2 separate regions of the Homo sapiens genome follow, and region 2 is linked to region 1. The links are contacts of gene promoters, found by promoter capture Hi-C in human tissues and cell types (Jung and others, 2019). All regions are on one chromosome and are shown on one strand. Each heading gives the region's core, a stretch centred on a gene start or on the middle of the fragment in contact. The rest is flanking DNA. Distances are from core to core; before and after follow the strand shown. Region 1 holds the start of SEC24C (SEC24 homolog C, COPII component). Region 2 overlaps P4HA1 (prolyl 4-hydroxylase subunit alpha 1).

Region 1 (4,789 bases), core at 1,701-4,200:
TTGTCTCAAATAGAAAAAAAAAAAGGTGGGGGGAGGGGGAAGAAAGAAACTGAATCTAGGATCTACCACTTATCAGGGGTGCAACCTTTTTTTTAAGATGGAGTGTTGCCCTGTGTCCCAGGCTGGAGTGCAGTGGTGCAATCTTGGTTCACTGCAACCTCCGTCCCCTGGGTTCAAGCGATTCTCCTTCCTCAGCCTCCTGAGTAGTTGGGATTACAGGCATGTGCCACGACATCCAGCTAATTTTTGTATTTTTAGCAGAGACAGGGTTGGCCAGGCTGCTCTCAAACTCCTGACTTCAGGTGATCCGCCTGTCTCGGCCTCCCAAAGTGCTAGGATTACAGGCATGAGCCACCATGCCCGGCCCTAGTGGGTGCAACCTTAAGCAAGACAGAGGATATTTACTTTCCTATATCGATATGAGTCAAGTGGGATGAATCATGTGAAAATGCTTAGCAGAGGACCAGTTTAGGTCAGGTGCTCAACATATCTTAGTTGAATTTGGCAAATTATTCATCTAGACTAGTGGTTCTCAATCAGCAATGGAATCACCTGGAGGGCCTTAAACCATAGCTTGCTGGGCCCCACCTCCAGAATTTCTGGCTCTTATCTATGTAAAGCGGGTCTGAAATTTGCATTTCAAGCAAGTTTCCAGGTGTTACTGATACTGCTGATCTGAGGATCACACTTAACCACTGACTATAAACTGATAGGTCAGGTGTGGTGGCTTCACACCTGTAATCTCAGCAATTTGGAAGGCTAAGGTGGGAGGAATTTGAGACCACCCTGGGCAACACAGGGAGACCTCACCTCTACAAAAAATTAGCCAGATGTGGGGGCACATACCTGTAGCCCTAGCTACTCAACTACCCAGCTACTCCTACTGAGGTAGGAGGACCACTTGAGCCCAGCCTGAGCAACATAGCAAAATCGTCTCTAAAACAAAACAGGCTGGGCGCAGTGGCTCACACCTGTAATCCCAGCACTTTGGGAGGCCAAGGGGGGCGGATCACAACGTCAGGAGATCAAGACCATCCTGGCCAATATAGTGAAACCCTGTCTATACCAAACATACAAAGATTAGCTGGGGTGGTGGCGCATGCCTGTAATCCCAGCTACTCGGGAGTCTGAGGCATAAGAATCGCTTGAAACCAGGAGGCGGAAGTTGCAGTGAGCCAAGATTGGGCCACTGCACTCCGGCCTGGAGACAGAGCAAGACTGTCACAAAACAAAACAGAGGACAAGAACAATCTGCTTGTTTAGTAAAGCATGCTCAATGCCTAATATATAGTTTCCAGCACAGCCTAAAGTGCAAATTTTTCAGTGAATAAACCACTCTGTGCCTCAGAATAACTGATATTTACTGTCAATAATATGAGAACAAACACTTTTGTTCACTGCTCTATTTCCAGACCCAAGAACATGGCTTGGCACACAATGTCAGCGCTCAGTGGGTTCACCCTGCCTGCTGCCTTGACAAAGCTGATTTATCAAGACCAGGGAATTGCAATGGAGAAAGAGTAATTCACGCAGAGCCAGCTGTGTGGGAGACCAGAGTTTTATTATTACACAAATTAGTCTCCCTGAGCATTTGAGGATCAGAGTTCTTAAAGATAATTTGGCGAGTAGGAGCTTGGGAAGCGGGGAGTGCTGATTGGTCAGGTTGAAGACGGAATCACAGGGAGTCAAAGTGAGGTTTTCTTGCTGTTTTCTGTTCCTGGGTGGAATGGCAGAACTGATTGAGCCAGGTTACTGGTCTAGGTAGTCAGCTGATCCAATGAGTGCAGGGTCTGCAAAACATCTCAAGCACTAATCTTAGGTTTTACAATAGTTATGTTATTCCTAAAAGCAATTTGGGGAGGTTCAGACTCTTGGAGCGAGAGGCTGCATGTCCCCTAAACTGTAATTTGTAATCTTGTAGCTAATTTGTTAGTCCTGTAAAGACAGACTGGTCCCCAGGCAAGAAGGGGGTCTTTTCGGGAAGGGGCTATTATCAATTTTGTTTCAAACCATAAACTGAATTCCTCCCCAAAGTTAGTTCCACCTACACCCAGGAATGAATAAGGACAGCTTAAAGGTTAGAAGCAAGATGGAGTCGGTTAAGTCTGATTTCTTCCACTATCATAATTTCCTCAGTTGTAATTTTGCAAAGGCAGTTTCAACAGCAGTGCTCGAAAAATTATGAAATCAACAAATAGTACTGAAAAGTTCAAATGAAGTCATATATGAAAAAGAAATCCTAGCACTGTTAGCTATAATTACTTAGCCATTAAATGGGGTACTAATAATTACTGCAGGAACTATCTTTTCCAACAGAGCGCAGAGATCTTTTGGCTCTGATAAAGCTCTGCACCTAAACAAAGGCGCTGTATAAAAATGGTTAATAACAATTGACCTTTACTGAGTGCTTACTATGATGCCAAGCGGCCTATGTGGCCTAATTTCATCCTCTGGGCATTATTATTTCCATTTTACAAGCTGTAGAGCCAGACCTCAGACCCCCACATGCAGGTTGACAACAGTTGGTGCCCTTTACCACCACCACACGTTCCGCAAATCTCATAACCAGCAAACGCCATGGGTGAGAGCAACCTAGCGGACGGAAATCAACGGGGTCAGGGGTCACCAGGAAGTGACTACAAGACTCTAGCTCAGAGGTCACTAATACGTCACAGGCAGAGTGAAGGGGCATTATTAAAGATAGTTTGACAAATTCTTTTTAATCTCATTTCTGTTGGTGAGGCCATAAAGTGACTGGAACATCTGAAAAAAAATGTCAGGAGGGAAATACATACGACTCAGCAGAGGCGCACAGGCGGCGGCCATGATGGGAAGATGAAAGAGGCGCATGCGCGGCATCCGGGTCCCCGAAATGCAGACGTGGCAGAAGAAGTGGCCCGGCCCTAAAGCGTGGAGGAGGAACTTCCGGGGGTGACGGGACGGCCCCCTCGGAACCGGAAGTGGAGCCTGGGAGCCTTGACGTTAGGAACGAAGTCTAACCTGGATCTGGAGCCGGGTGAGGAGTGGCATCGGGAGGTTGGCGGGTAGGAAAGCAAAGGAGAGGTCAGGGTATTACTGGCCAGATTGGGGTCCGGTTTCAGAAAGAAGGGAGGAGCCTGGGGGCGGGGCCTGGGTAGAGACCCTCACCTCACGCATCCACCATCCAGGAGCAGGTCCTAGACCATCCCTTCGTCTCCCGGCCCAGATTCCGGCTCCTGCTTCCTGCCCCGAGCCTGTTAAAAGGTGCAAGACGTTTGGTCTCTGTGCTTAACAGAGCAGCCCCCTCTCTTAACGTGGCCCTAGAAGCCGACTTGGCTTCTCGGTTTTGATCCTCGGCTCTCCGAGGCTCCATGGCTTGACTACTTTCAGAGTTCTAGGAAGCTTGCCCCGCCCCCTTGGGTTGTCACCCTCGACTATCCACCCAGAATGGAGTCGAGACTTCAGTCTGACTCCAAGCTCTTGAATGTGTTTGAGGGGATTATTTTCTGGAGAAGAAGCTCCTTTCTTTACCCCTCCCCCCGGCTTTGGAAACATAAAGGGAGAGGACATATTTTAAACTTAGTGTCAGTGACCTACCTCTGTAAGGTTTAGGGTTTGGAAGAACAGCTATTGAGATAACTTTGAGTTTAAAGAGTTTTAGACCAGGATCAGCTCCTTTTCTATAGTCAAGGTGGCCCTTCTAGCAAAGGGGGAGAGGTCCATTGTTCCCTTTGCAGCAACTCTGAGTGCTCCTGCTTTCTGGGCCCCTTCTGTCTACAGGATAATTGGAATGATACAGCTGTTGAAAGTAGATGTGATGAGATAGTTTTCTTGGAAGGACCCTGTTTAGAAAAGGCCCTCTAATTCATCCCTGTGTTGATGAGCAAGATTGTAATAATTTTGATGGTGGCTGAGATTCATAACAATCGTAAGGGGAGCAGAAACAGGAGAGTTGGAGAAGTGCATTGGAATTTAGAATATTCATAGTCTTCTGCTTGAGGGATGAGGTGAATGATTTTTTTCCATGAAATCTAACTCTAACTTTGCCCCTGATTCTTGAACTGTTTCCTCAGATTATGTGAAGAAGTTTTGGTGCCTGTTCTGCACTTGGTTTTAATCTGTTACCTTGCTAGAGTTTTCAGGTGTCCTTTATTTTTTATTTTTTTGAAAGGGCGTCTTGCTCTATTGCTCAGGCTGGAGTGCAGTGGCACGATCTCGGCTTATTGCAATCTCCGCCTCCCGGGTTCAAGCGATTTCTCCTGCCTCAGCCTCCCAAGTAGCTGGGATTACAGGCGTGTGCCACCATGCCCGGCTAGTTTTTGTATTTTTAGTAGAGACTGGGTTTCACCGTGTTGGCCAGGCTGGTCATGAACTCCTGACCTCAAGTGATCTGCCCGACTTGGCCTTCCAAAGTGCTGGGATTACAGGCATGAGCCACTGTGCCTGGCCAACTTTTATTGATTTTAATGCTTCGGTTTTGGCCGGGCGTGGTGGCTCACACCTGTGATCCCAGCACTTTGGGAGGCCAAGGTGGGTGGATCACGAGGTCAGGAGATCGAGACCAGCCTGGCTAACAGGGTGAAAACCTGTCTCTACTAAAAATACAAAAACTAGCTGGGTGTGGTGGCACGCGCCTGTAATCCCAGCTACTCGGGAGGCTGAGGCAGGAGAATCGTTTGAACCCAGGAGGTGAAGGTTGCAGTGAGCCGAGATCGCGCCACTGCACTCCAGCCTGGCAACAGAGTGAGACTCCGTCTCAAAAAAAAAAAAAAAAAAAAAAAACCTTCAGTTTTAAGGTCCATACACTCTT
Region 2 (4,789 bases), core at 1,136-3,635, 650 kb before region 1:
CAAGCCAACAACTGGGAAAAAATATTTCCCTATCACATCTAGCTATTGCACTCCTAGGCATTAATATAAGAGAAAAGAAAGCATATCTCTCTCCAACAACTTGTACATGAATGCTCATAGCAGCTTTATTCATAATAGTCAAAAAGTGAAAACAATCCAAATGTCCATCAAAGGGTAAATGGGTTAAAAAAAATCATGGTATATTCATAAAATAAAATACTATTCAACAATAAAAAACTATGAACACATAACAACATGGATGAATCTCAAATTATGCTGAGTGTAAGGAGATTCCCCGTGCTAAAAAAAAAAAAAAAAAGCGTATATACAATTCCATTTTTATAAAATTCTAGAAAATAAAAACTAATCTTAAGCAACAGAAAGGAAACAATGGTTTCCTAGGGATACAGAGAGGGTAGTAAGGAGCAAAAGAAGGGATTACAAAAAGTCATAAGGATACTGCCGATGCCCCGGCTAGAGTGCAGTAGCGTGATCTTGGCTCACCGCAGCCTTAATCTCCAGGCTTTGGGTGAGTCTCCCACCTCAGTCTCCCAAGTAGCGGGGACTGCAGGCACACAACACCACACCTGGCTTTTTAATTTTTTTGTAGAGACAGGGTTTTACCATGTTGCGCAGGCTGGTCTTGAACTTCTGGGCTCAAGCAGTCCTCCTGCCTCGGCCCCCCAGAGTGTTGGGATTACAGGTGTGAGCCACTGCGCCTGGCCAAGTATACTCTTTTTTGAGACAGAGACTCATTTCGGTCACCAGGCTGGAGTACAGTAGCACAATCACAGTTCATTGAAGACTCAACCTCCCCAGCTCAAGCAATCCTCCTGCCTCGGCCTCCCAAGTAGCTAGGATTACAGGCAGGCACCATCACACCCAGCTAATGTTATTTTATTTTGTGTAGAGATGAAGTCTTTCTATGTCGCCCAGGCTGGTCTGGAACTCCTGGGCTCAAGCAGTCCTCCTGCCTCGGCCACCCAAAGGGTTGGGATTACAGGCCTAAGCCACTGTGCCTGACCTTGAGGATACTCTTGAAGGTGATGGATATGTTCCTTATCTTGATTGTACTGATATTTTTTTAAGTAGATATTTTTGTCAAATTTATCAAATTGTACACTGTAAATATATGCAATTTGTCCTGTCAATTTTGCTCAATAAAGTCGTTAAAATATATCAGTTTATTCAATTTATTAGTAATCACCCTTATATCAAAGATTAGTGTTTTACTTATTACTATCACTCTACTTGGTGGCAATGGTCACTATTCACTATTTTCAAATACAATATTAAGGTTTTTTAAATTCAGGCATAGTAAATTGAGGTCTATTTTCAAAATATCTTTGAGGTTAAAGGAAGTAACTGCAGGCCAGGTGCGGTGGCTCATGCCTGTAATCCCAGCACTTTGGGAGGCCGAGGCTGATGGATCACCCCCGGTCAGGAGTTCGAGACCCGCCCGGCCAAGATGGTGACACCCTGTCTCTACTAAAAATACAAAAAAGTAGTCGGGCGTGGTGGCGGGTGCCTGTAATCCCAGCTACTCGGGAGGCTGAGGCAGAGAATTGCTTGAACCCAGGAGGCAGAGGTTGCCGTGAACCGAGATTGCGCCACTGCACTCCAGCCTGGGTGACAGAGTGAGAGTCCATCTCAAAAAAAAAAAAAAAAAAAAAAAAGAAGTAACTAAATTTTGAAATCATGTAAATTTGAGAATGTCTTCATGTAACCTTTGACTATGAATATGTTGCCTGAGTTTACCAAAAAAATAAATAAATAAATAAATAAATAAATAAAAAGGAGGAAGGTTGTCAGAACCATAGGGCAAGAACAAAGGTCACACACACAAGTAACATTTTGAGGTCCTAAATTCAACCAGTAGGTTTTAGAAATACCAACTTTTTTTGTTTTTTTGAGACAGGGTCTGGCTCTGTCACCCAGGCTGGAGTGGAGTGGAACAATCAGAGCTCACAGCAGCCTTGAACTCCTGGGCTCCAGAGATCTTCCCACCTCAGCCTCCCAAAGCACTGGGATTACAGATGTGAGCCACCACGCCTAGACTAAAATAAACATTTCTTGATCATATTTTTGGAGAAATTAGATATGCAAATCTAGTTAATATAAGATTAGAACTGTAAGAGAAGTCTTGAGCCTACTTAAAATCAGTTAATCAATATTTAATTTATTGTTGCAGACACATGTAACAGGATATCTGATGCTTCATACACTGTTCAATGCCTTTTAATTTTATGACTTGTATGATAGTTCTCGGCTATTCATTCTTGGGTTTTACTGAAGTTCCAAAAATCAAAGAGCTTTGATTCTTGTAATGGAAATATCTAGAGAAACTTGTGTTTAACTGACTCGGCAGAGATGAAGGCCAAATTCTCATATGTACCTATAACATTACTCAAATACTATTCTTAGTACAAAAAAGTTAAATATACTCTTATCTCTGAACATGAGCTATTCAGACCAAGGCCACTCAGGTCAGAGTAGAATACTCAAAAGCTGGCTTTAGCAGTCCCTTTCCTCCTAAAAAATGGATTATTGCTCTGAGGCCCAGGTATACTCAGCTTCATCCCTCCCAAGGCTATTCTGTCAAAATTCCACTTTTATTTCCACCCAGTCTACCTCTTTCTAGTCTTCAATTATCTGTTTACTCTAATGCCAGATCCAAATTTCTCAAGTTGAGGTAAAGAGAGACAAAATAAGACCATGTATACTAGAACAGGGAAAAATGAATTCATGGTTGTAGAGGATGTGAATCTAGATATGCATTTCCATTCAGTGCTACAGATTTAATATCTAGTAAAATGTTAGCCACATGGTGCTATATCATGTAATTTTTATGTCCTACTTCTCCTATGAAACATTTCTCATCATTCTTGATTTTCCTACAGTCTACTGGCCATATTGTAAATAATTTTTTTTTCTTTTCTTTTTTTTTTTTTTTTTTTTAGAGACAGGGTCTTGCACTCTCACCCAGGCTAGAGTGCAATGGTGCTATCATAGCTCACTGCAGCTTCCAACTCTTGGGCTCAAGCGACCCTCCCACCTCAGCCTCCCAAGTAGTTAGACTACAGATGCATGCAACCTCATGCCCCCTTAATTAAAAAAAAATTTTTTTTGTAGAGAGATGGGGTCTCACTATGCTGACCAGGCTGGTCTTGAACTCCTGGCCTCAAGTGATCCTCCTGCCTCGGCCTTCCAAAGTGCTGTGATTACAGGTGTGAGCCACCATGCCTGGGCAACATAGTAAGGCCCTGTCTCTAAAAAAAAAAAAATTTAAATATAAATTTAAAAATTAAAAAATTGGTTAAAGTTTACTGTAATTATACAGGTTGATAAAATAAACCACTAAATTACAGTCCTCTCTTTGCACTACTTATAATGGAGAAACAGCTCAAGTGTCCAACAAGAGAGTAAGGATGACCAGGCATGGTGGCTCACACCTATAATCCCAACACTTTGTGGGGCAGATGGGAGAATCACTTGAGGCCAGGAGTTCGAGACTAGCCTGGTCAACAGAGCAAGATCCCATCTCTACAAAAAATTAAAAAATTAGCTAGACATGGTGGCATGCATCTGTACCCCGAGCTACACCCGGAGGCTGAGGCAGAAGGATTGCTTGAGCCCAGGAGTTCAAGGCTGCAGTGAGCTATGGTCACACCACTGCACTCCATCCTGGGCAACAGAGCAAGATCCTATCTCTTAAAAAAAAAAAAAAAAGAGAGAGTAAGGCTGAGTGTACTAATTCCACATAATATTACTATTTAAGAAAGAAATGAGTAATATGGACACATTTTTATGAAACACTAAACATGAGGAAGAGAAAGGCCCAATATAGAACTCATTCACTGATGACAACTAGGTAAGAAGTCTGAATCTCTATAATGTATTTTTAGCAAATGTCAAATCAAATATACTAACAGTCATACTGATCATCCAAAGGAAGACCAGGAAAAAGAATGTTTTTCACCACACCGAGTTTAAAAACTGCTGGAGTAACCTAAATGAGAGTCCTTTTGAATTGCCAAAGCTTTTCTTTAGGTACAATACTTATTCAACTAGAGAAACTGAAGCTGTCCTAATGACAGGACAGCTTCAATTTATACAAATAAATTTTCTTGAATAGAAACACAAAGCTTTGGCCGGGCACGGTGGCGTGATCACACCTGTAATCCCAGCACTTTGGGAGGCCAAGGCGGGCAGATCACGAGGTAAAGAGATCGAGACCATCCTGGTTAACACGGTGTAACCCCGTCTCTACTAAAAATACAAAAAATTAGCTGGGCGTGATGGTGGGCGGCTGTAGTCCCAGCTACTCGGGAGGCTTAGGCAGGAGAATGGCGTGAACCCGGGAGGTGGAGCTTGCAGTGGGCCGAGATTGCACCACTGCACTCCAGCCTGGGTGGCAGAGTGAAACTCCATCTCAAAAAAAAAAAAAAAAAAAAAAAAAAAAAAAATATATATATATATATATATATATATATATATATACACACACACACACACACACATACTCATTTTATTTGGATTTTTTATATATATTCATATATTTATACACACACAACACATTATGGTTTAATTACAAGATTCAAGATCTCACTGCAAGAAAAGCAATAAAGTTTAATGCCAAGAGCCTATGCAATTTATTTTTGTTTACTTCCAAGCCTGTTCCACTTTCAGAATGGAAAACCAAAGTTAAGTTACCATATATAGGAGAGGGCATGCAATGTGATATACTTTCACAGACTAGACAATTTAGCATTTCAACAATTCTAACAAC

The links. The method cuts DNA at HindIII sites, captures the fragments that hold promoters and counts their contacts. A contact is called where the count stands out against the background at its distance.
Region 2: a fragment that was not itself captured here is called in contact with the fragment with the promoter of SEC24C in region 1 in 1 of the 25 tissues and cell types used here (dorsolateral prefrontal cortex).

Annotation. Positions count from the first base shown.
Region 1 is chr10:73,741,422-73,746,210 of GRCh38, forward strand. SEC24C (SEC24 homolog C, COPII component) reads left to right here and starts at 2,951. Exons shown (of 23, transcript NM_198597.3): 1 at 2,951-3,016. It overlaps LOC124902453 (a long non-coding RNA gene), which reads right to left and starts at 2,844. Exons shown (of 2, transcript XR_007062195.1): 1 at 2,796-2,844; 2 at 1,543-1,790. RefSeq lists enhancers at 1-59, 2,293-3,492, 2,332-2,899, 2,570-2,999, 2,900-3,466 and 1 more. The HindIII fragment of the contact is 12,749 bases long and covers 1-4,789 here.
Region 2 is chr10:73,089,409-73,094,197 of GRCh38, forward strand. The region is part of intron 1 of P4HA1 (prolyl 4-hydroxylase subunit alpha 1); the gene reads right to left. Among named protein-coding and RNA genes, the nearest start is that of P4HA1, 5.1 kb to the right of the region's middle. The HindIII fragment of the contact is 7,132 bases long and covers 1-4,789 here.